Linked DNA regions of Homo sapiens: all the other regions are linked to region 1. The links are contacts of gene promoters, found by promoter capture Hi-C in blood cells and fetal thymus (Javierre and others, 2016). All regions are on one chromosome and are shown on one strand. Each heading gives the region's core, a stretch centred on a gene start or on the middle of the fragment in contact. The rest is flanking DNA. Distances are from core to core; before and after follow the strand shown.

What was found. Contacts are between HindIII fragments. The CHiCAGO score rates a contact against its expected background, and 5 or more counts as called.
Region 2: the fragment with the promoter of TFDP2 here is called in contact with the fragment with the promoter of ATP1B3 in region 1 in 1 of 17 cell types (fetal thymus); the score reaches 5.4 in fetal thymus.
Region 3: a contact is called between a fragment that was not itself captured here and the fragment with the promoter of ATP1B3 in region 1, in 1 of 17 cell types (naive CD4 T cells). The highest score is 5.5, in naive CD4 T cells.
Region 4: a contact is called between a fragment that was not itself captured here and the fragment with the promoter of ATP1B3 in region 1, in 1 of 17 cell types (fetal thymus). The highest score is 5.0, in fetal thymus.
Region 5: a fragment that was not itself captured here is called in contact with the fragment with the promoter of ATP1B3 in region 1 in 1 of 17 cell types (fetal thymus); the score reaches 5.8 in fetal thymus.
Region 6: a fragment that was not itself captured here is called in contact with the fragment with the promoter of ATP1B3 in region 1 in 15 of 17 cell types (M0 macrophages, endothelial precursors, M2 macrophages and 12 more); the score reaches 12.1 in M0 macrophages.

What each region holds. Positions count from the first base shown.
Region 1 is chr3:141,875,311-141,878,010 of GRCh38, forward strand. ATP1B3 (ATPase Na+/K+ transporting subunit beta 3) reads left to right here and starts at 1,333. Exons shown (of 7, transcript NM_001679.4): 1 at 1,333-1,600. The coding sequence starts at 1,492. RefSeq lists silencers at 228-287, 1,158-1,287, 1,558-2,127. The HindIII fragment of the contact is 6,749 bases long and covers 1-2,700 here.
Region 2 is chr3:142,148,232-142,150,931 of GRCh38, forward strand. It overlaps TFDP2 (transcription factor Dp-2), which reads right to left and starts at 1,313. Exons shown (of 13, transcript NM_001178139.2): 1 at 952-1,313. RefSeq lists silencers at 809-858, 1,089-1,158, 1,219-1,428, 1,539-1,588 and an enhancer at 958-1,458. The HindIII fragment of the contact is 3,426 bases long and covers 542-2,700 here.
Region 3 is chr3:141,410,912-141,413,611 of GRCh38, forward strand. All of the region lies in intron 5 of ZBTB38 (zinc finger and BTB domain containing 38), which reads left to right. Among named protein-coding and RNA genes, the nearest start is that of ZBTB38, 44 kb to the left of the region's middle. The HindIII fragment of the contact is 3,130 bases long and covers 1-2,700 here.
Region 4 is chr3:142,279,822-142,282,521 of GRCh38, forward strand. No RefSeq gene overlaps it. Among named protein-coding and RNA genes, the nearest start is that of GK5, 56 kb to the left of the region's middle. The HindIII fragment of the contact is 1,595 bases long and covers 470-2,064 here.
Region 5 is chr3:142,226,042-142,228,741 of GRCh38, forward strand. No RefSeq gene overlaps it. Among named protein-coding and RNA genes, the nearest start is that of GK5, 1.8 kb to the left of the region's middle. The HindIII fragment of the contact is 1,467 bases long and covers 660-2,126 here.
Region 6 is chr3:141,590,076-141,592,775 of GRCh38, forward strand. All of the region lies in intron 19 of RASA2 (RAS p21 protein activator 2), which reads left to right. Among named protein-coding and RNA genes, the nearest start is that of RASA2-IT1, 66 kb to the left of the region's middle. The HindIII fragment of the contact is 2,889 bases long and covers 1-2,700 here.

The DNA.
Region 1 (2,700 bases), core at 83-2,582:
AGCACTTTATAGGAATATATTTTACCACTTTTCCATTTGTGGGAGGTATAATTCATTATTTCTTGCTTTGGTAAGAAAAGTGAGGAAAAAGGAAAATTCATCCATTTGCAGGCTGTTTAAACTTCCAGACAGATTATAATTCATCACTCCAAACAATAAGATGGCTATTACATTTCTCCATAATTTTTATTTGCTAATAAAACGGAGGCAGAGCTTTTTTCTAAAAATAAATAAATAAACAACAACAACAACAACCTCCCCCACCCCGCACCTTCTGTGCAAATTCCTATAAAGTCTTTTATCCTGTCGCTGAGTCTGAGGGCACCCCCCCTCCCGTACTCGTCAGCTCCATCTCGCGGAGGAAAACGCTACCGGCACCCTCAGCTCCGCCCAAGGGCCGCGATCTCTACAGGGGAGATGAAAAGCCGGCGACACTACACAGGCGTGGACCCTCCAACGAGTGTTCCTTTCCTGTGGGTTAAGAGTAGGAGCGTCTGGGCAAAAGCTGGGAGCTTTCAGTTGCCAGGACCCTTGGGAAAGCACGTATTTAGATTTCATTGATAAATTCAACTGAATCCCGAGAAAAATTATACTCCATTCACTGGCATATTTAGAACGGAATTCCCATTGACCCGAGGCTCCCGGTTGAACCCTTCAAGGGAGCCAAGCGAGGACGTTCTCAGAACAGCAGTGCACCGTGTACATTGTGGGAGCCCCGCGCGATCCCCCGCAGAGCGTCCTGTAGGAACGTCACAGAGCCCAGAGAGCGTCCTGTAGGAACGTCACAGAGCCCAGAGAGCGTCCTGTAGGAACGTCACAGAGCCCAGAGAGCGTCCTGTAGGAACGTCACAGAGCCCAGAGAACGCCTGGGGACGGTCGGGGAGGCAGTTCGGGGAGGGGACGATTAAGTTCCCTCAGAGAGGAAGCCGCGGGCCGACTGGAGTCGTTTTCGTGCTCTCCGCACCCGCCCGCCGCGGGTAGCATCTTCTCAGCGCCCCGGCGCCCAGGAACGCCCAGGAAACCCAGTCCTCCTCCTAAGCAACCTGCGGCGCGGGGACGCCCGCCTTTTGCTATTATTATAAACGTGCGTGCGACTAAACCTTCGGATTTTTAGACTTTCTTCTCGCTTCCTCTGACCCAGGCTGAGGGAGCCCCCGAGGCTACTGCGGGGCGGGGCCGGGGCGGGGTGGGGCGCCCTCGCCGCCTCAGGCAGCGCCCCGGCCGCTGGCGGGAGGCGGCAGCGGCGCGGGCCGAGCGGCGCGGGGATTGGCTGCGGCGGGCGGAGACGTCAGGCTCCCGCGGCCCAAGCGGCCGCCCGGCGCGGCGCGGCGCAGTCGGCTCGAGTACTCCCCGTAACGAGGAGGTGTTCTCGGCCGTCCCACCCTTCACTGCCGTCTCCGGGCTGCGCCGCCGGAGCCGGGACGCGCCTCCGCAGCCCTCGCCGCCTCCATCCCCGCGGCCGCAGCTCCTCTCGCCGTCCGCGCGCACACCATGACGAAGAACGAGAAGAAGTCCCTCAACCAGAGCCTGGCCGAGTGGAAGCTCTTCATCTACAACCCGACCACCGGAGAATTCCTGGGGCGCACCGCCAAGAGCTGGGGTGAGCGGGCAGCAGCTGGGCGTCCGGGGCCGGCCTCGGTCCCGGGGGCGCCGGGCGCGGTCTGGTGGGAACGGAAAGGCGGGAGGCGGCTCCCAGCGCCGGGGCTCCCGACCGCCCGACCCTAACCCGGGCGGCGGCGGCGCAGTGCGGCCCCATTCATTGCTCCCCGGGCCGGCCGGACTGGCCGCAGCTCGCTCCCGAAGCAGCGGGGCCCGCGGGCAGCCCGGCCGGGCCGCGCTGGTTCCTCCCTCCCTGCTGGGAGCGGGGCGCACGTGCTGCCCGGGCCTCCCGCCCGGCGCGGCGCCGGAAGCCGGGGACCCCTGCCCGAAGCCGGGCCCCGAGAGTGCAGGAGCCGAGCCCCCGGGCCTCCTTTGTACGGAGCGCTCCGGCCCGAGAGGCCCTGGCGGAGGCGCCCGGCCCGCTGAGCGGTTCGGAGAAGCCAGACCCTGCCCCACTCCAGGGGAGAGGAAATTTCCACTCCCGCCGCTATCTTGTGACTCGTCCACGCTGCCACCCCGACCGGTCGGAAGAGTGCGACTGAGTGTTAAGTGTGGGTGTGGGTTGCTTAAACGTGTAGCGGTGAGTTAATCACAGAAGTACATTGTACAAGAAAATGCACTTGAATTTGGACAGTGAAAAGGCCCTTAAAAAGGTTGGTTCCTCCCGGATTCCTTTTTAATTACAGAGGTTTTCTTCCTTACAAATTTGCTTCTTTGGGGAAAGTAAATCCTGTCTGAACAACACAGGTTTTTTTTTTTTTTCCCGTGTCTTCAAAACAGGAGAGTGATGGTTGTATGTTAGCAGATTTTTTCTATGCGTGAGCTCTTTGTTTTAATATATTTAAACCATCTACCGTGTAGAGTAGCTTTAGGATGCCTTTTTTTCCTAAAATTGTATCAATCTCTGAATGCAGGCTAGAGCTTTTTTTTTTTTTTGCCTTTATACTTAAGTAAACTAATTTTACCTTTTTAAATCCTTTTGAAACATTTTGTTAGTGGGTCTTGAAAGACCATTTCTTTCTGAGTGGGAATAAATCTCGAGAGCTTAGAACTATTTGGGCACAACATTTTTAGGATAAGCATGGAGAAATAAGCTGTGAC
Region 2 (2,700 bases), core at 63-2,562, 270 kb after region 1:
AAATAAGTGAGAGGGAGTCTGTGCCCTCTGAGATGGAATGAGGAAAAGATAAAAGTATTCATGGGCTCAAAGGCAGCTTCAGCAGTGAATATGGAAAAGGAATGAGCCCGTTCACTGTCTCAACACTAAAAGGGAAATAATATAGGGTCTTTTTCTAAACCAGCATCCATGGCAGTCAATAATAAAAGTGCCTAACTAATGCAAGGCATTTAATACGTGGAGGATTTTCTTACGATTGCATTCCATACATTAGTCCATTCACTCCCCGAAACACACCGAATAGGTGGATGCATCTAATTTACAGATGAAGAAACCGAGATCACACAATGGGAGATAGCACAGGCTGGTAAGAGAGACTGGGGCGCTCATCCACTTCGTTGTACTGTCTCTCAGCGAGATCCTAGGAAAACCCTTACACTTCTTTGTGAAGACAGACCTTGGCTTTCCAGATTTTCTCAAAGGAGTCTGGGCCCAAAAAGCGATCCTCTACTTCAGAGAAAAGTTCCTTTATGGGGCATATGAGGTTCTTCCAAGCACACAAAGCTTAGAAACTCTTTAAAAACAAACAAAACACCTGGTGGACACAGAGGCCTGTGAGTCATGAAAGGAGAAGGGAAAAATCGGAAAACCAGATTTAGAAGCCATCCTTCTTTGAAGAGAACGAGAAAGTAGAAAGCAGCCCTTCCCCTCTTCCACGAGGCGTGACTCAGGGACGTTACCTCCCCCGATTTGCTCTATGCACTAAGAGGGTGACCCTCCTCTGCTTTCGACTCTGGCCCAGACACTCACGGGTTACCCGGCCAGGCCTGGAGAACCCAGGTCTAAACAGATGGGACTCGTGGGGGAACAAGGGGGCCCCTGTGCGCAGGGAGGGAAACCTACCCAGGAACGCGCCCGGCCGGGTCCAAAGGCCCTCCGCGCGCGGGCCCGCGCCCTCGCCCCAGACCTTACCGCCTTCGGCTGCAGAAGAACTGGCGGCCAAGCGAGGCTGTCGGGCCGAGCCAGGAGCGCGTCTTCGGGCGCCGCCGCTTCTGTGGCGCCCGCGCTTAGGCGGCGGCCGGGTCCCGGTGGACTCACACCCGGGGAGACGCGGCCTGCCCGGTCAAGGCCCAGGAGTTTGAGGCCCCAGAACGCCAACCGTGCGCGCGCCCTCGAGCCTGCCCAAAGATGAAGGGTCAGGGCGCGCCCCGCGGGCCGGGCAGCTGCGGCAGCGCCGCAGCCGAGATCGCTACCGATTTCGTCCGCCCTCTCCCTGCCCAGCTACAGCCCCGCTTCCCCCGCGCGAGCTTTGGCGGCGGAGCAGCACAGTGCGCGCCGATTGGCCCTCAGAATGTGCGACGCCTGGCGCCGCTCCCCACGGATTGGCCGGGCCGGCAGTGCGTGCACGGAGTAAACAAACCCCGCCCCCAGGCTTCCCTTTGAGAGTAGGGGGCCAACAGATGGAGGGGCGGGACTCGTGCACTCAGCCACCGCCCCTTGGTTCCCCCTGTGGCCTCCCTGGGAGCCCTCCGCAGGACCCGACCACCCCGCTTCCCCGCCGCCTCCAGGGACAGCTGCGGGCCTGAGGCCTAGAATTTTAGACACACTTCCTTCATCACTCCTATCTCATCCCCCCTACTCCCACCCTGCGACTTGGGTGGGAATCTCTTTTCCAACTGACCCCGAAGCCAGAAAACCCCAGCTCTCTTGGAAGGAGGGGGACTGGGGCAGTTCCATTCGGTCCCCAGGCCTTTGCGGGGTCGCCCTGGGGGAGCATCAATAAGGGACAGGGGGGCGAGTGATCGTGATTGAGGCTATGCGTGGGGCCAACTGTGGGACACCTTGAAATTATTCAGACAATGAGTTAGAGACCACTGGGAATGTGGAGGTTCTTCAATATCAAGGCAAGTTAATACCCAAACCAGGACAGGTCATTCTGTCCCGCGGAAACTGCACACACCCCAAATACCCGTACACTTGGTTCCATATGAAAAGATTTTGTTCATTCGTTCGTGCCGAAGTTAAAAACCCCGTGTGAACAGCGCATTAAAACGATTAGATCTTTCTCATTTTACTCCAGTCAAATCTTATAGATCTTCTATATGCCACTTTGTTTGTTTTTGAGACGGGGTCTTGCTCTCACCGAGGCTGGAGTGCGGTGGCAGGATCACGGCTCATTGGAGCCCTGACTTCCCAGTCTCAGGTGATCCTACCACCACAGCCTCCCGAGTAGCTGGGACTACAGGCCCGCGCCACCACACCCGGCTGTTTCGCCATGTTTCCCAGGCTGGTTTGGAACTCCTGGACTCAAGAGATCCTCCCGCCTGGGCCTCCCAAAGTGGTGGGATTACAGGCGTGAGCCACCACGCCCGGCCCCAAACACTATTCTTGATATGGGGAGACATCAGTGGACAAAATAGAGACAAAAACTCCTGCCTTCATGGAGCTTACATTCTAGCAGGATGGGAAAGATAATATGCAAAAGAATACGTAAAACAAAAACTATATTACATGCTGGTATGTGTGCTATGGGAAAAAAATATAAGCAGAGGTGTTGGAGGAATGGCTTCAGTCCTAAATAGAGTGATCTGGGAAGGTAGCACGGAGAAGGTGGTATTTAAGCAAATGCCTAAAGGAGATGAGATAGGTAAGAGAGCACTTTCAGATCTTTCTCTGGGGCAGGGTGGAGAGACAATTGTATGCATAATTGCATGTAACTAG
Region 3 (2,700 bases), core at 52-2,551, 460 kb before region 1:
ATGAAAAATCCAGTGGCTGTTTAAGTCCTGGAAGGGTATCTTGGGATTATTTCAGCAACCCGTGAAGGCAGGCTTTGTGCAAGGTGAGACAGATATGAGCTGTCACTTCCTGCTTTGTGAGTTGGATATTGTTTCTAGGCCCTGTTTTATTTATGTTATTTTTCCTGTTCATGTGTTAGAACAACTGACTGTTTGTAGAGTTGATGACAATTAGATAATAAGACCACCAATTCAGTCCAAACAAAGATGAATTCATTATCTTGCCAGGCAAGGGAGACCCACATATTCAGATCAGTCTCCCCATACTTTTGTGCGTTTTCATGTAAGCATGGAGATTTCCGATTAGTTTTAATAGCACAGTGATTGGCTCCTAGACACCTAAATGAGGATTTCCTTTTTGAAAAACCTACTCAGCATTCTGATCTGTCCCTGCTTAAACCTATTTAGTCTGGTCTTATAGTCCCTGACTTGAGCCCAAAGAGCAAGGTTTCTCAAGGTCTCTGTGCAGGTCTTTGATGCTCTTTCGTGGAAGAGATTTACAGTGGTTACAGCCATAACCGGTGCCTGTGGCTGAACCATGCCTTCTGTAGTGTGTTCAGCCCTTCCCTTGAATTAATGCAAGTTCCACCTTTGCTTTAATGGGAGGGGACAGAAGGACCACTTTGAGGAAGCGGAGGCAAGAAGATAGTCTGCAAAAGCCATGACGTGGCACTGAAATGAAGCCCTGTGTAGGGTTTTACTCAGACGTTAGAGAACTGGCTGCCCCTGAGTGCTGTGCTAACTAGGGAAAGAAAAAAAACCCTGACCTTTAAAATTTTTCCTGTGAAGGTCTAGCAATTCTGGAGTGTCTTCAGCGACTACACAGTGTAAAGCAACTTTTTGCACAGAAGCACCATAAATTACCTAAATGGAAATTTGCTTCTAAGTGAAGTTCTTACCCTGTCTGTTGGATATTTAGTATTGTCAATATTTGTTTTTGTTTTTGACATTTTCAGGAAACCAAGAGCTTTTTGTCACATTTGAAGAATCTCTTTTAAGAGTTTCTTTTCTATTTATAATGCGTTTCTGATAAGAAGATTTGCACCTTTCTCTATTTTAGAAAATACTTTTTGAGGTCTTTTGTTTTTCCTTTTATGAAGTTTAAATAGTTGTCTTAACCTCCAATCCTAGCAACTCCCTTACATTAAAAATGACCTATATTTTTTTTCTCCCATGAGGTTCCTTTGCTCAGAGAGAATAAGAAAAGTTCTGGTAATTAGTCACTGTGGTATTCTGTAAACAAATACTTTGGAAGCTATGATTTATGTTACTGGTCGGGAAGAAAAAAAAATGGTTTTGTGTATCTCTAGACGATTACCCTTGTGAAAGGCAAGTGCCTCGTATTCCCAAAAGGTCTCTTGGGTGCCCTGTTTGTTGTGTTAAGGTCTCTCAAAGCCGGTGGCCATTTTCTGCGAGCTGAATCCCTGTGTGAAACTCCTCCCACTGTGAGGTCTACGAGCATTTGTTTTCTAAAATGAAAGCACAGGCAGAAACTCAAGCTATTCTACAGAACAGTCTGTTCTTTTGATTTTTTTTTTTTTAGATCAGTATATTTAAAGCATAATTTTTCTAAACAACATATTGCGAGTGTTTACCTGCAGTGGTTTGGAGTTTGTTTGGGGAGTTTTAATTATTTTTTAATGTAGACAACTTATTTACCAACATCATTGCTCCTTCTGCTCAGATAATTCTACCCTAAACCAGGTGAATAGGGGAACTATGTAGGCACCTGACTACTGCCAGAAACTTTCCTTCTGTTTCTATTACCTTTCTTTTGGGGTGAAATTGGCAACAGCTCACTGGAACTTAGCTCCCTTAATATTCTTTCTCCCTCCCACAATTTTTTCCACTCGGTTTTTTTTTTTTATCTGAACCATTGTTCATCCATTTGAAACACTGGCCAGAGTTTTTGTCGCTTTTCCATAGTAGGAAAGCCTTTGTGCCTCTCTTTGTACCTCAGACCTACTGGTGGGCTTGCCGGACAGCTCTGCCAAGCGCCTGCGTCTCCTGAGCCTATGAAGAGGCGACTTTCACAATCCTGTGCTGCCTTCGAGCTCTGTGCTGCCAGGCCTGGCCTCCCTCCAGAGGTCGTAGTGTTGCCAGCAGTGGCTTCAAACTGGAAACATGGGAGGAGGAATTGTGGGAAATGGGGAAGAAGAAAATGTTTGTGCAGGGAAAGTGTGTACGTGGACTTAAATAAATATCTGAGGGCCCAGGCCCATACAGATGATCTCTGTACGCTGGTATTTTGCGCCTGGAGCCAGGTGTCTGTTGACAGTGGGGAGGAGGTGGGGAAGACCCAGCCGGCCGAGAGCCTCAGCCACCTTCCTGCAGGAGGTCCTCACACCCCAGACGGTCAGAATGCTCCCCAGACTGAGGAATCAGCTGCACATCCCCCTGATGTCTCTAAAGCTGAAATCTGCTTCCTGGGTTTAGCCACCATTTTCATTGAGCAGTTCTGAGGATTCCTTGTGGGTACTTGTGATCTTGGTGGAGATGCTTCATGGTGTTGACCCTATTGTTTTGAATACCTGACAGCTGGATGGTCCAGGCCCTATTTCTATGATCTGTTTTTTGGAACTGTTGTATTTGTGTGACACAGTGATGGAGCATGATGTCAACTCCCACATACTGTAACCCAGGAAGGAGCATGATGTCAGC
Region 4 (2,700 bases), core at 17-2,516, 400 kb after region 1:
CTTCTGGGTTGAACCCAGCCTTTGGCCACCCATCTGAGTGCTGGCAAAAAGGATCTCTAGCTATCCTGTTACAAAATTTTCCTCCTCTTCTATCCATGGTCACCATGTCTCCTATTTTCTCTGCATGCAATGTGCAGGAATTTTTATAGTTCAGGGAAGTAATCCTGTTAGGAAAGATCAGGAAATGCTGTAGTAACTGGAATATAGCTCAGGGGAATGCCATTGTGATTTCCTAGGAACAGAAAGTCTTCTCCCACAGTGAGCATTTCACCCTCTGCCCTTGATCTGGAAAGCACATGGCATCTCCAGGTCACTCTCTGCCCTTGAGCTGGAGAGCACGTGGCATTTTAAGGTCAATATCGCCACCTAGTGAACTAAAAATCATCTCCATGAGGCGTTGTCGGTCCTTTGACATAACACTGTACCTTCCCACTTCTTCTCCCATTTTGCACCTCTCTACTAGAGACCAAGCTTTATGCTGCTTCTGTGGATGGGAAAACTCTGCATTCAACAATTAGGAGCAAAATGTCCTCCAGAACCAAATTTTAGTTCCAATACTGTCCCATCAGCAGGAAAATCACTATTAGGTCCCTATGTTCCTTTAAGTCACCTATTTATGTCTCCAGTTAAAGCAATACTTATTAAGGGGATTTTAAGTCCAGAAGTTAATGAGAACCATTCTCTAGGGGGAAATGCTTCAGCATGGGCCATAATAGCAAAATATGGAGTTCAATCTAATACCCTCCAAAGGCAACGACCTTTTTTTTTTTTTTTTTGAGATGGAGTTTTTGCTCTTTCACTCAGGATGGAGTGAAGTGGTCCAATCTTGGCTCACTGCAACCTCTGCGCCCTGGGTTCAAGTGATTCTCCCCCCTCAACCTCCTGAGTAGCTGGAATTATAGGTGCCTGCCACCAAGACAGGTTAATTTTTTTTTTTTTTTTTGAGATGGAGTCTTGCTCTGTCGCCCAGGCTGGAGTGGAGTGGTGTGATCTCGGCTCACTGCAAGCTCCACCTCCCAGGTTCACACCATTCTCCTGCATCAGCCTCCCAAGTAGCTGGGATTACAGGCGCCCACCACCACGCCCGGCTAATTTTTTTTTTTTTTTTAGTAGAGATGGAGTTTCACTGTGTTAGCCAGGATGGTCTCGATCTCCTGACCTCGTGATCCGCCCACCTCGGCCTCCCAGAGTTCTGGGATTACAGGCGTGAGCCACCATAACCGGCCTAAGACTGGCTAATTTTTGTATTTTTAGTAGAGATGGGGTTTTGCCATGTTGGCCAGGTTGGTCTCGAACCAACCTGGGTGACTTCAGGTGACCCACATGACTCAGCCTCCCAAAGTGCTAGGATTACAGGCATGAGCCACTGTGCCCAGCTCCAAAGGCAACTATTACGTAGTCCTTCCCAATATCCATTTTTCAGGGAGGCACACAGATCACACAAGTCTAGGAAGTCAAAGGGAAATCACAGGCAGAGGACTAGAGTCACATGGGTAAGCGTGACTAATCTCAATTGCTTAGTTCCTCTGGTTCCATGGCTGGGGGGCGGTCACACTTACAACCATGGGTGGCGTGTTCAACAAGGTGCCAGGACCTAGGAACCAAGGAGGGAAAACAGCAGAGAGGACGCCCCCATTGTCTTTTCCTCCACACTTGGTCACACCAAAAGGAAGGAGACAAAAGGGATGCCTTTTTCTTGCTTCTCTTTCTAAATGGGTAACAAACCATCTTCAGCTTGCACCCCTCTGGGGTGCATCCTGAAGCACAGGGACTCCTTTAACCCTGAGACTTTGAAGGAAAAGTGGCTCACTTTCTTTTACACAAGGGCATGGCCTTCTTACTAGACCTTTGCAAGCATTGCACAATCAACCCAGCTCTTGTAGTAGTCATATCAGACAGGCCTATAGAGAATGATTCCCCAAAATTGGAGAAGCAACTTCTGGGGGAACCATCTGAGGATCCCCCTAACTTGGGGCCCCCTAAAGTTCCCTTATCATTACAGGACCTTAGGTAAATAAAGGGAGACTTAGGCCGATTTTCTGACAACTCTGATAGTTATATAGAAGCTTTCCAAAATTTAACTCAGGTGTTTAACCTCTCATAAAGTGATATTATGCTGCTCCTAAACCAAACCCTAACCGTAGCTGAAAAACAGGCAGCTCTGCAGGCAGCAGAGCATTTCAGAGATGAGCAATATGTTTCCTACAGCAGGCCAAAAGGGAAAGGAGAAAATAGAGAATGTGAAGAAATAGGGGAAACACCATTCCCAATAGGAAGAGAGGCAGCACCTCTTGACAATCCTAATTGGAACTCCCAGACTTTTCTGTGGTAATTTTCCTTCTTTCGTTGTTTAAAATGGCTTCTATCTCTTCTTTTATAATGTTCTTCCAACCTGGGAAGAGCTAATTTCCTCAAACCTTAAAATGCTTGGCTTAGAGTTGAGCTAGGGGTAAAGGAACCCAGAAGCCTGACATGCTGAAAAAAGGGTAAAAGTTATGTGTGTGTTTTGTTTGTTTTGTTTTGTTTTTTACCAGTTGAGCTTTTGGCTTCTCTTTCCCTGAGTAAACTGGTAAAAGGGGAAATAAGGATTATTGTTTATATTCTCTATATAAAGTTTTAATTAGTGAAAAAGGATTTGTGCGGTTGGTCTTAAGCTGTAGCCAATCTGTTGTGTTTTGTGTGTCTTTCTGCATGGTTTTG
Region 5 (2,700 bases), core at 143-2,642, 350 kb after region 1:
CGAGCCCGGCGGCCCTTAACTCTTAATTTTTTCTTTTGCTTCTCCAGCTTCCTGAGAGGCAGCGCCAGCGTTTCTCTTAACCCTAGCTACATTTGAAGAATCTCTGTTAAAGAAAAATAGCTACCCCATATGCTAATCGTAAGGAGAGAAGTATAGGCTAGTTTATATAAAAATCTCAAAAAGTTTGGAGGTGCCATAAGGCACATTTATTCATTTCTCAACTATGATTATGACTTGAGGGTTGGAGAAATTTTTATCTGAGTAACTTTGGCAGACTAACCTGTGTCTGCGTTCGTGCAGAATTTTTCAAGCTTAAAACATTTGTAGAGGTCACTACCATATATAGTTTCCATTTTTTTGCTAACATTTTGGGTGCGACTTTATTTCAGTATTATTAAATGCACAGCCATTGAATATGCTAGAGTTAAATGAAATAAAGTGCTGTTTTTCAAAAATGAAATAAAACAAGTGACATAAAAAATTCAAAATTTGGCCAAAAGTATTAATATTTATTAACAAACTGAGAGCTCCCCACGACTTCTCTTCCCAGAAAACCTGGTAAAGTTTGCACACAATACAAAGCGGTAAATATTTGCCAAATGAAATACAACGCAAGGAAGAAGACTTTTCTCAGCCCTCTAGTGGGAAAGAAAGGAGAAAGCTTAAGGTGGCTGCTTTGACCATCACACTCCACTCCAGCGGTTGCTTTTTTTTGGAATCTGAAAGCCTCACAGAGACCCTTTACCTTTTGTTGCTGCCCAAGGGGATGGGCTCATCCAGACACTTGGCCAAAAGGAACAAGGTGTCCTGTGGAAATTTCGAGATTCTTGCGGCTTAGGTTCCTGGGCCTGGAGCTTTCCCGGGGAGGGTCCTGATCTGCAAGTAGTGGGGAGGTGGTTCCACCTGCGCCACCCACCTCTCCACTGCCACCAGCAATCTGTGAAGCCGGGGCCTGAAAATATTCCTTATCTTCTTTTTGTAAAATTAGCAAACATATGAATATATGTTTTGTGTGAAAACGTTTAACAGTGCCAACTGGTATGTCAATTAAAAGGTAAAAGATAATCATTTTGGCTGGGCGCGGGGGCTCACGACTGTAATCCCAGCACTTTCGGAGGCCGAGGCGGGCGGATCACTTGAGGTCAGGAGTTTGAGAGCAGCCTGGGCAACATGGTGAAACCCCGTCTCTACAAAAATACAAAACTTAGCCGGGCGTGGTAGCGGGCTCCTGCAATCCCAGCTACGGGGGAGGCTGAGGCAGGAGAATTACTTGAAGCCGGGAGGCGGAGGTTGCAGTGAGCCGAGATCATGCCACTGCACTCCAGCCTGGGCGACAGAGCAAGACTCTGCCTCAAAATACATACATACATACATACATACATACATACATACATACATACATACTTACATACATACATACATACATACTCATTTTGAATCAAAACTTTTTTTAGACAGGGTCTTGCTCTGTCGCCCAGGCTGGAGTGCTGTGGTGCCATCTCAGCTCACTGCAGCCTCGACCTCCCGGGCTCAGGCGATCCAACTGCCTTAGCCTCCCATGTAGCTGGGACTACAACCACCACGCCCGCCTAATTTTTGCATTTTTTTGTAGAGACTCTGTTTCGCCATATTGGCCAGGCTGGTCTTGAGCTCCTGGCCTCAAGTGATCCTCCCACCTTTGTCTCCCAAAGTGCTGGGATTATGGGTGTGAGCCATTGTGCCCAGCCAAATCATTCTTTTTTTTTTTTTTTCTTTTTTGAGACGGAGTTTTGCCCTTGTTTGCCCAGGCTGGAGTGCAGTGCTGCGATCTCGGCTCACTGCAACCTCCGCCTCCCGGATTCAAGCGATTCTCCTGCCTCAGTCTCCCAAGTTGCTGGGACTACAGGCCCTCTCCACCATGCCCAGCTAATTTTTGTATTTTTAGTAGAGACGGGGTTTCACCATGTTAGCCAGGATGGTCTGGATCTCCTGACCTCGTGATCCGCCCGCCACGGCCTCCCAAAGTGCTGGGATTACAAGCGTGAGCCACTGCACAGGGCCAAGTCATTCTTTTGACCAAATTGTCGTGTTAATCAACTTGCTTTCAGACAATTTGACAAAATTGGCTCTTTGGCCATACAACGTGAAGCTTGGAACATACACCTGGAAGAGTATGTTTTTTTTCTTTGTACCCTGTTCAACAGTACTGATTTGTTCCAAGTGGCCTCAAGGACTGACTGCCTTCACCAGTGCTGGCCATTTTGGTCGTGTGTGTGTGTGAATTATTGTAATTCGAAATAAATGACTAATGGGTCCAGTACTTGTCAGGGTTCTACAGAGAAATAGAAACAATAGGATAGAGAGAAAGAGAAAGAGAGGTTTATTATTTTCAGGAATTGCTTCATGTGATTGTGAGGGCTGGCAAGTCCTGGATATTTGTGGGGCAGGCTAGCAGGCTGGAAACTCAAGAAGAGTTTCCATGTTGCAGTTTTGAGGAGACTTCCTTCTTTGGGAAACCTGTCTTTGTTCTTAAAGCTTAAAACCAATTGTATGAGACTCACCCAGGTTATGAAGGGTGATCTGCTTTACTCAAAGTCTACTAATTTAAATGTTAATTATTTCTAAGAAATACCTTCACAACAACACCTAGACTGGTGTTTGACCGAACAGCTGGGCATACAGTGTGTCTAACTAGCCTAGCCAAGTTCACACATAATAGTA
Region 6 (2,700 bases), core at 170-2,669, 290 kb before region 1:
ATTTTGATGGATTTTTCCAAAATATATTACATGCTTCCCTGCCTTCTAAAAAAGAGTTCATTGAACGTAAGTTAACATCTTCTAGATGACTTGGGGCTACCATTGATAATATTAATTGTTATATGGATTCTGATTTAGTGATATTTTCAGGGCTGCTTAAAGGTGTGTGCAACTGTTTACTCCAGCTAAATGCATTTACTCCGCAGCTAAATGCCTTGGACTGCTGTGCTTTTTGTGTTCCTATGTTCGCTTTATACAGTTTTTCTGTATCCTTTGTGGTAAGGCTGTGGCCTTAAATTTCTTGTGATGTCTGTGAACCATAATATAACACCTTATTCCCATCCCATCACCCACCTCTATTTTTTACAGTAGTGTCCTATAAGTGAGGATGCAAGTGCTATGTTTGTTTAAATTATGCCTAAGATTAAAAGGCTTTGAATGAAAACGTCAGGACTTTCTCCTGTAAATAAAATACCTGGGCTTTGCATTCTCTGTTTGGTTGTTGAGCAAATGTTTTGCTTACTTCCAATTTCCCTGCTGTTTTCTAGGTAGCCAAGACTTGCTAGTTAATTAGTCTTTTGCTACACTTACTATGTGACTTTGGTGTCTGAAAGAATACCTCCCAAATTTCCTGTAACATAGACCTAAATCATTGAGTCTTTCACTCTCTCTTCCTAATATACAGTAGTATTGTGAATCAAGTATTTCTGTCACTTAGTGTCAAATAATATGCATAGTCTTTTCCCAATTTACTGGAAAATGAATTAGTAGAATTTTCTCTGTATTAAGGATTTTTCTTCAATAAGTTTTTAAATTTTTGAGGCCCCTTTAGGCAAGTGCTAACAGGCAATAGTAAGCAACTAATCAGTAGAGTTAAATTAACATGTAGCAAATGAATATTATCAGACACTCAGCCATCAGTCATGATTACCTTGAGAGATTTTTATGGCCCTGTGTACTTACAATTATGATTTTATATTGCTATACTATAATTTAGTCATCTTCTACAAGTAAAAGTTCTCTTAGTTATATGCGGAGATCAAACTAGTTATTGATGTTCTAGCCTCTTTATGTCTCATTCAGCCTCATCTTTTGCAGTATCCATATGTAGTTTCACCAGACTACTTTTTGCAGTGCCTTCTTTACATCTTTTGCATGCTTTTACATTCATGCTTTTGCATATGTACATAAAAATATCTACCTAAAAATTCCTTTATTTTCTCCTTTACCTGTGTAATCTGTTGTCCTTTAAGTCTTAGATCAAGTGTCAGCTCTTTATGGAAGCCATTGTAAGCCTCATATGGCTACCTCAGTGTAGCCATTCCCTTACTGTGTATCTTCAGCTACGTGGCATTACTGTGTGGTCATTACTTTTGTCCATCTCTTCCCCTAGTCTTTAAGATCCTCAGTGGTAAGGACCATATTATTACTAGTGGCATAAAGGCATATAGTAAGTATTCTTCAAAGAACACCATGTCTTCCATATATGCTGTCATCTGAATTACGTTACGAACTACTTGTCTTTCTAAAATTTCTGCCAGGCATACTAATTCATCTTTGAAATTCTGTTCTGTAGAATTTAATTAGATATTGTCTACTTTGGGGAGACCTGTTATACACATATACATACACACAACTTTCATGTGACATTAAATGCCCTAGCTTATATAGCCAGCCCTACCCTAGCTCATATAGCCAGTGGACATTGTAAAAGAAATGTCCATGATATTTTAAACATAAATGTTCAATACACTGAAGTTGACACGGTTTTCACCTACCTGTATTTTCACATACAGGGCTCTGCAGCTTTTTTTTTTTCTGATAGCTAAAGAACAAAATACATCATTGATTCAATCATGCATTTATTCAACAGGTATTTTATTGAGTGCCTACTATGTACCAGACACTGTTCTAGGCTCTGGAGAGAAAAATAGTAAACAAAACATACCAAATCCCTGTCCTTATAGATCTTTACTAAGACAATAAACAGTAAAAAAAAGAAAATTATATTTATGTTGGATTATAATAAATCAGATGAACAAAAAAGAAGCAGGGACAAGGTACAGAAAATGATGGGTTCAGTGAGGTGAGTTAAAATATTAAAAGGTCTAACCAGGGAAGGCTTCACTGAGAAAGTGACATTTGAGCAAAGACCTAAATCTAAAGATGGTCGGGGAGTGAACCATGTGGATATTTGGGATAAAAGTGTCACAGAAATAGCTAACAGCACCCAGAACAAATGCCTTGAAATAGAAGCATGCCTGGAGTGTTAAAGAGATAAGAGAAAGCTCTTGTGGCTGGAAAATTGAAGAAGAGGGTAAGTCATAGGAACTAAGATCAAAAAGATCATAGAAGTGCTAGATTTTATAGGACCTTGTGGGCTTTTACTTTGAGTAAAATGGAAAGACATTGGAGAGGTTTAAGCAGAAGAATAACATTGTTTAACTTATGTCTTAATAGGGTAACTTATGTCTGTGGAGTGTTACATGGAGAATGAATGAAGGGCACAAGGAGAGCAGTTAAGAGACTACTAAAATATTCTAGAGGAGAAAAGAGAATGGCTTGGATCTGTTGGTAGCAGTAGAAATGATAAAAATGGATCACATTCTGAATCTATTTGAAAAATAGTACCCAGAGGAGTTAGATACTGGGAGTGAGAGAAAAAGGCAAGTTAAGGATAATTCCAAGGATTTGGGCATG